Linked DNA regions of Homo sapiens: region 1 is linked to region 2. Evidence: promoter capture Hi-C in human tissues and cell types (Jung and others, 2019). All regions are on one chromosome and are shown on one strand. The core of a region is centred on a gene start or on the middle of the fragment in contact, and the rest is flanking DNA. Distances in the headings are between cores, read along the strand shown.

Region 1 (3,751 bases), core at 626-3,125, 43 kb before region 2:
AGAGCTGTGAGTTTTAGTGCAACAGAGAGAAGGATGCCCCTTGCGCCACTGACCACTCTTTCCACCTTCACCTCCCTTAAAGTCAGGGTTAGAGATGGAGCCCTGGAGAACAGGCTTCCAGATCCTGGCATGTGGGAGAGAGAGAGAGAGAAAATGAGAAGGCCAGGCTGCAGACACGCCAGTCCCTTCTGATGCCATCTCTACTCTGGTGTCTAATCCACCACCTGGAGTGGGCACTGTTTTTAACTGAAGCCTGAGCTGCTCACTTTGAAGCTGGAACTCAGGCTGAAGAAGGCAGGACAGAGACTAAGTGCCTGGAAGTTATCCCTCAAGTGCGACAGGCAAGGCTAGGTGGGACCTGGACAGACCTTCCTGGGGATCTGCGTAGGATTTAGGTAGAGAATGCTCTTAGAGAGCCTTCAAAGGCCTGGGAGCATCCTGAGGTATGCTGAGCTGAGGACCCAAAGGCTCATTCCAAGCCCAGCTGATGGGCCACCCCATTGAATGGGATTGGCTCAGAAATGGTGTGGGAGAAGGCTGGGCGTGGTAGCTCATGCCTGTAATTCCATCACTTTGAGAGGCCAAAGCAGGAGGATCACTTAAGCCCTGAAGTTTGAGACCAGCCTGGGCAACATAGTGAGACCCCACCTCTATAGAAAATACCAAAATTATCCGGGCATGATGGTGCCTGTAGTCCCAGGTACTCAGGAGGCTAAGGTGGAAGGATTGCTTGAGCCCAGGAGGTCAAGGCTGCAGGCCAATAGCAGGGCACTGTACTGCAGCTCGAGGAACAGAGCAAGACAGTCTCAAAAAAGAAAAAAGGAAAAGGAAAAGAGAAAAGAAAGAAAAAGAAAAAGAGTGGGGATAAGACCACAAACTAACAATTTTCAGGGGGTATATTGCATAGGGATCAAGAACGTGGACTCTCTACCTGGCCCGAGGTCAAGTCTCAGTGTTGTGGCTTAATTGTGTTAAATTTGTGTCCTCAATTTCTCCATCCCTCACATTGGGGGAAATAGTGGTACCTACTCATAGGATTTCTCTGGGAATTAAATCCATAAATCCACTAATATCTCTGAGACACTTAAAATATTGTCCTGGCACATGGTAAACACTAACACCTGAGAGTTATTATTTCGTCCCTGTAGCTGAGTAGGGCTGAGGAATTGTAGGATTGGACCGCCTCTACCTTAATAAAATGTGCTCAGCATTTCTGCATATGCAAGTAACCCTTTGCAGCAGCAGGGACTTCAGCCAAAAAATATATATATATATATATAATATGTATGTGTGTGTGTATAAATGTATGTGTGTGTGTCTATATATATATATAGAGACAAAATAAGTGGAGTTGGGGGAGGGGCACCGCAAATAATGTTCCTGCTGTTAAAATAAGAGGGACTGAACCATATTAATGCCAAGGGGGAAGTTCAGTTTATTTCAGGGGGGACGTGGTTTTCCTACCTCCTACTGTGTTACTGATACAGTACTTACTGACCAGCCGTCTTAAACTCTTGTGGTAGGGTCTCTCTCTCTCTCTCTCTCTTTCTCTTTTTCCTAATGGTGTGGAACAGAGCTTGAATAATAAATATTTAACAGGGACACTCCCTTTTCTCTGTTAAAATAATCTTTGTTTCAATACTTTAACAAGGAAGACTGTGTTTTCCCACCTCTGCTCTCACGTTTCGTTGAAGCCAGGTCTCAGGAGTAAGAGAAAATCAACACAAGGCCACTTGGGGAGGGCAGTGCTGGCTGAAGCCGTCTCACTGGACAGCCCAGGGTCAGGGGTTTCAGCCGCCTGTTCAAGGACACCGAGATCCACAGCAGCCACCTGGGAGCTCCTACACAACTATGCCCAGCGATTCCAGGTGCCAGCTACTGAATGTGAGAGAGCAAGGAGGTGGAGGTGGATGAGGAACTGCCAGCTGCAGGACCACAGGGGCAAGGGGAAGGGGTTGTCAACAGGGATGGGACGCTGGGTAGGATCAGTCTTTTCTTACGAGACGTTTTCAGCTGAGGTGCTGGCTTCTGATGGTGGGAAACCAAGCATTCAGGTCCCTTGGAGAGGCTTATATCTAACAGTTGGAAAGCCTCCATTGAGGAAATCCAGCCCATTCTGCCTGGACTTTGGGGCTCCATCCATGGTGACTTTTGTGTCAAGGGAAAATTCACACACTGTCCCTCAGGCGGGCAGCAACTTAATTTCTCTTTAGCTGAACTGAACTTGCTTGCAAGCCTCTATGTAGACCAATGGCGGAAACAACTTAATCTTTTTTCCATTTCTGTTGTTGACCAAAAAAAAAAAAAAGCTTTAAAATCTTTTTTCCATTTCTTCTAATGGTGGAAAAAAGCATAATCTTGCCATTTCAAGGTAGCTCAGTCTCTTCCAATAGAAAGCATAGACTATCCGTTTATGACTTAGGCGATTCCAGATTTAAACACAGTCAATTCAGAGTAGAAATTCCCTATCAGGGCTGTTGGTTTTTCTTGAAGGTTCTCTCCTCCCCCTGGTCCAGTCCTAAGATGTTGCCTAGATGTGAGGGGGGTTTACAGAACATCATGGTGGCAGGTAGGGAGGCTCACTTCCACAGCTGAGGTGACTCGTCACAGGAGGCCTGGGGCCTGGGCCAGGATCTGTGCTGACATCTGTGGCTTAGGCCTCCCTCTCTGGGTTGCTGAATCTCTGTATTTGGAGCCGTGTGTCACTGCCCCCAGGCAGCCTCTGGCCTCAGTGGCCCCTCAGCACTTCCTGCTGGGGACTTGAGGGAATTTGTTCACAGTTCACAGGGAGCGACCAGCCTTCAGGCCCCATCTGTACTTAGTGACACCACATGGTTTCCACTGGGCTCCAGCCCCCGTGTTAGTCCAGAGAACTTTGACAGCTGCCTTCTCCCGGGATTTCTGTGGAAAGTGGAGTCTAAGACCCCCTTCCCCAGGGTGGCATCCAAGGAGCATTTCAATTTTCTTGCTCACCCTCTTCTCACTGCAGGCCCCTTCCCTGCTTCCCTGCCTCCAGAAAGAGCTTGTATCTCTTCTCTGGATGGCAGGAAACAGCTCCTCCCTCTCCATGGCTTGTAATCAAAATGCTAGGCTCTGAGTTCTTCAAGCTCTAGTTCTTGGAACCCAGAAGTTTCTCTCTCTCTCTCGCTCTTAAATCTTATAAAAGCCTACCTGGCTCTAGCATGAAAGCCTAAAAGCCTTGGCTTTCACAATGTTTCACAACTGAAATGGTATTATTTGGGAATTTAAAAGCTAAACATTGACTGCTTTGTTCATGTCTGGGTTCCACCCTCCTCCTCAAGTAAGGGAGGCAAGCCCCAGCTCCTTGGGTTGAGGGCCCCAGGCAACAGAAATGACCCAGAATGAAAAATGCATTGATACTTCAGAATATCGTCCGGCTGCATGTATAATTCAGGGCAGCCAGTCTGAGCTCTGGTTGGGGTGGATTTACCAACTGCCTACTTAGCAAGTGCCAATTGCTCTTAGTGTTGTAGCCAGCCCAGTGGTGGCTGGAGGGCCAGGTGCACTTGTACTGCCTGAGTCAGGGAGTTCTTGAACAGGGTCTTTCTACTCAGTGGTCTCTGGAGAGATGCCCTGCCTTGGGTTTAGGTGCTGATGGAGTGTGATATGAGTGCTGGTCTCTTTCCAGCTCTCAGAATATCAAAGTGGGCAATGTGGCAGTGGTTCCTTGCCAAGAATGAATGACATGAGAAGTGAGTAATGCAGCTTTTCCATGATTTGTTCTGTGTGT
Region 2 (3,710 bases), core at 1,178-3,677:
GACTGTAACCTACTCTTGAAGCAGTCACAGAGTTTTGGCCAATCACAGGCGGTCAACTGTTTAAACCATGTTTAAATAAGGCAAATGCCGAGCTGTAACCAATCCAGCTGTTTCTGTACCTCATTTCCGTTTTCTGTTCATCATATTCCGTTTTCTATCCATAAATATTATCTGACTATGTGGAAGCCCCAGAGTTGCTCTGAATCTATTTTGTTTTGGGGCTGAGGGGGGCTGCCCTATTTTCAAATTGTTCTTTGCTCAATTAACCTCTGTTAAATTTGTCTAAAGTTTTTATTTTAACACCTCATAATCAATAGCTGCAGCACTTTCAAAGTCATTGAACCAGTGCTGAACGTTTTGAGTCTCTTGAGACACATGTTGGAAGCTAAGGTCCAACCAGTCAACCCTCTGTCTTCTTGTTTCAGCTTTCACACTGTAAATGAGTGGCCCAAAAGTTCTCTTCATTGCCATGTTTTCACATTTTTTTGGTCTTTTTTTTGATGATTTTGCTGCTTAAAGCACCCCCCAGGCACAGTGCTGAAGTGAAGTCTAGCGTTCCTAAGTGGAAGAAGGCTGGGATGTGTGTTGCAGAGAAAATACGTAAGTTAGATAAGCTTCATTCAGGCATGAGTTACAGCACTGTAGGCTGTGAGCTCAGTGTTCAGGAATCAACAATAGATGTTAAGTAAGGCGTCTTTAAACAGAAACATGCATAAAATAAGGCAATGTGTTGATTGATTGACAAAAATATTGTGAGCTTGCAGGAACCCAACTCTATATTTCCCCTAGGAACAATGGCTCCATATTCACAAATTCGTTGTTCTGTGACTTTATAGACCACAACTACAGTAAATAAAAAGGATCGATTGTCCATAGATGAGTTAGTTCTAGTTTAGCCCAGCCCTCCCTACCCTTCACTGGCTACTCTTACCTCTCCTGTCTCCACACTGACCTGTCCTCTGCTCACTTGCCACAAGTCCAATCATTTTACATAGAGTGGAGAGACAGCCTTGAAGATCCTCTTCTTGGTCAGAGGAAGTCACCAGAGTAAGTAAGGGAAGAATGAGTGAGGAAAGCAGGCAGGGCCAATTGCTCTTGGCAAAGCTCTAGCAGTAACCGGAACGCAGCAACCACAGAGAAGGCAGGAGAACAACTTTAGGGGTGAACAGTCCAGGCTCTAGAGAGAGGCAGATAGGGGTTCCAGTCCTGGCTTCTCCACTCATGGTGGGCAAGTTATCCTCCCAGCCTCAGATTTATCCTAGGTGAAATGGGATAATGCTCGAACTACTGCTGCTGTGAAGATCAGATAGACACAAAGAGCTTGGTACTCGACAGACACCCAAGGAAATGGCGACTGTGGTAGGACTTAGGTGGGGGCATAATGCAGCCTTTAAGATCAATCTCCTGGCCCTTGGCTTATCCTGCTGGGACTAGGACAAGGACAGGGACAAACATTTCCTTTTACTTCTCCTCACCTCCAGAAGTACACAGGCAACTCACCCCAGTCTCTTGTCCGCGACACTCTTCCCCCCAACCCCAAATCCCAGGCCTGGACACGGCATGATTCTGGCACCTGTGGAGCTCTCAGTTCCCCAAGCCCGGCTCAGACAAGGAGGCGCCAGGTACCCAGTTAAGAGGCGCTCCTGCAAGATCCTCGTGGTCCCTGGCTGCCAAAGGTCCCAGGCCTCTGGGCAGTGAGCGCTCCACAGTCCCTTGTGTGGCGTCTATGCTGCGCGGAGGAGGCGCAGGCCAGGAGAGGGCCATTGGTCTCCACTATGGTCCTGCCTGGCCAGGAGTGCCTATGGCTCTTAGGCACGAGCCAGCGGTTCCGGGCAAACCTCTGTGTGGCTGCTGGGCCTGACTTTGCAGAGCTGGCGCCCGGGTCTGGGCGGGGTGGGTGGAGGCTATGGGAGGTGGGGCCGGGGGTGGGCTCGGGGGGAGCGACGGCATCCCTGCTCCGGCTCCGGCTGAGGCGGGGCGGCCAGGCTGGCTTGCGGCGCAGCGGCCGCCTTTCCCCAGTGCGCCTGCCGGCGGCGGCGGTGGCGGCGTCGGCAATCCCGGCTCTTGGCACAACGCCTGGCGGCCGGCCCAGGGCGAGGAGTGGCTTCCAGGAAGCGGGCGGAGGAGCGTTCCAGCCGAGTCCCGCCGTCGCCGCGGCCCCGCGCGCTCCGAGCGGCCCGGGCCTGGCCCCACACGGCGTCTCTTCGCGCCCCCGGCGCCTCCAGCTCAAGCCGAGGGCGCGGTGCCGGCGCGCAGGCTGACGGGCGCCTGGGCGCGCCGTGCACTTGCCGGGCGGTGCAGGTGGCGGCGCGCGCCCTCCGCCTCTGGGCCGGGGCCAGCGCAGCGCTCTGCGCGCCCGGAGGGGGCGGGAGAGGCGGGGCAGCCCCCGTCCCAGCCCCATTTAACTTCGCGGCGGCGGCGGCGACTGCGGCGCCGCGGGCTGGAGGCCGGCGTCGGGGAAGGTCCTGGTGCCGGATTCCGCACGAGGTGTTGACGGGCGGCTTCTGCCAACTTCTCCCCAGCGCGCGCCGAGCCCGCGCGGCCCCGGGGCTGCACGTCCCAGATACTTCTGCGGCGCAAGGTGGGTGCACCGAGCTCGGCGCAGGGCGGCCCCTCAGGGGTCGGGGGAAGGCGCTCCCCAGAGGGAGTAAGACTTGGAGCAGTGGCCTCTCTAAGCAAGTTGGGGGTCTCCAAGCAGAGTCGGGGCGTGCCACGCGGGCCCCAGGGGGCCTCAGGACTGGGGTGCTCCTCACTGCTGGGCACCTCGGGTCGGGCGCGCTTCGTGCCGTCCCGGAAGGTTCAGGGAGAGTCTTTCGGCGGCAGTTCGCGGGCTGAGGGGCGTTCTTGATTATGGGGGAACTCCACAGGGTTGGAGTTTTTCAGGATTGGGAGTTACTAAGCAGAAACCTCGCGGGTCCGAAGGTCCGGCCGGTTGACCACTGGGTAGCGAGCGCCCAGAACGCCGGGGGTTGAGGCGACGCGCGATCGTGGAAAGTGGGCGTGGGGGTGACCGGGACGCGGCGGAGGCACTGGAGGAGCGACTTCGAGGCAGCGGGTAGTCGGAGGAGTGTGCACTCGGAAGGCTGGTGCGAGCAGGCGAGGGTGGCGCAGAGTCCCAGGGCCCCGCACTGGCCGCCTCCCTTCAGCCAGGAGTCGCCGCCTCAGGTCGGAAACAGCAGCACATTTGCGGATCACATTAGACCAGGCCCTTAATGCCTTCTCCAGATGGAGAGAAGCCACCGACCCGCCCCCGGACACCAGCTCCGCCAAGGCGCCCGCGAGGCGAAGCGGGAGTCGAGTGTGACCTCGGCTTTTCCAGTCTCGACTCATACTGATTTCCCTGTAAATTGACAGGAAAAGTAAGGGAAAAAGTCCCCGCTTCCCTCCTGGTTTCAGCTGACCTCTGCTGGCTGGCCCTCACCTACTTTTAGGAGATTGTGTTAGGCTGGCTCAGGGGCTGTGTCCTCCAAACCTCCCTGAACTTAGCTCTCAGGCGTCTCTCTGGGTGTGGGTCCCGGACCTCGAGGGCGCACGGTGTCATCTAGCGAGGAAAGCCTTGAACTATCAGAAGATCTGCGTTTCAGCCCTAAAATGTCACTATCTTGCTGTGTGACCTTAGGCAGGTCCTTTCCCTCTCTGGGCGGCTTTGTTGTCTTAGACTCATTTTTGCCGCGAGCAGCAGAAGCTAGCCTAAACCTTGGCTCTGTGCT

What was found. The method cuts DNA at HindIII sites, captures the fragments that hold promoters and counts their contacts. A contact is called where the count stands out against the background at its distance.
Region 1: a contact is called between a fragment that was not itself captured here and the fragment with the promoter of ADAMTSL3 in region 2, in 2 of the 25 tissues and cell types used here (hippocampus and mesendoderm cells).

The regions. Positions count from the first base shown.
Region 1 is chr15:83,609,720-83,613,470 of GRCh38, forward strand. The region is part of intron 8 of SH3GL3 (SH3 domain containing GRB2 like 3, endophilin A3); the gene reads left to right. Among named protein-coding and RNA genes, the nearest start is that of ADAMTSL3, 43 kb to the right of the region's middle. RefSeq lists enhancers at 3,362-3,531, 3,659-3,751. The HindIII fragment of the contact is 7,535 bases long and covers 1-3,751 here.
Region 2 is chr15:83,651,696-83,655,405 of GRCh38, forward strand. ADAMTSL3 (ADAMTS like 3) reads left to right here and starts at 2,428. Exons shown (of 30, transcript NM_207517.3): 1 at 2,428-2,581. RefSeq lists an enhancer at 897-1,066. The HindIII fragment of the contact is 6,298 bases long and covers 1-3,305 here.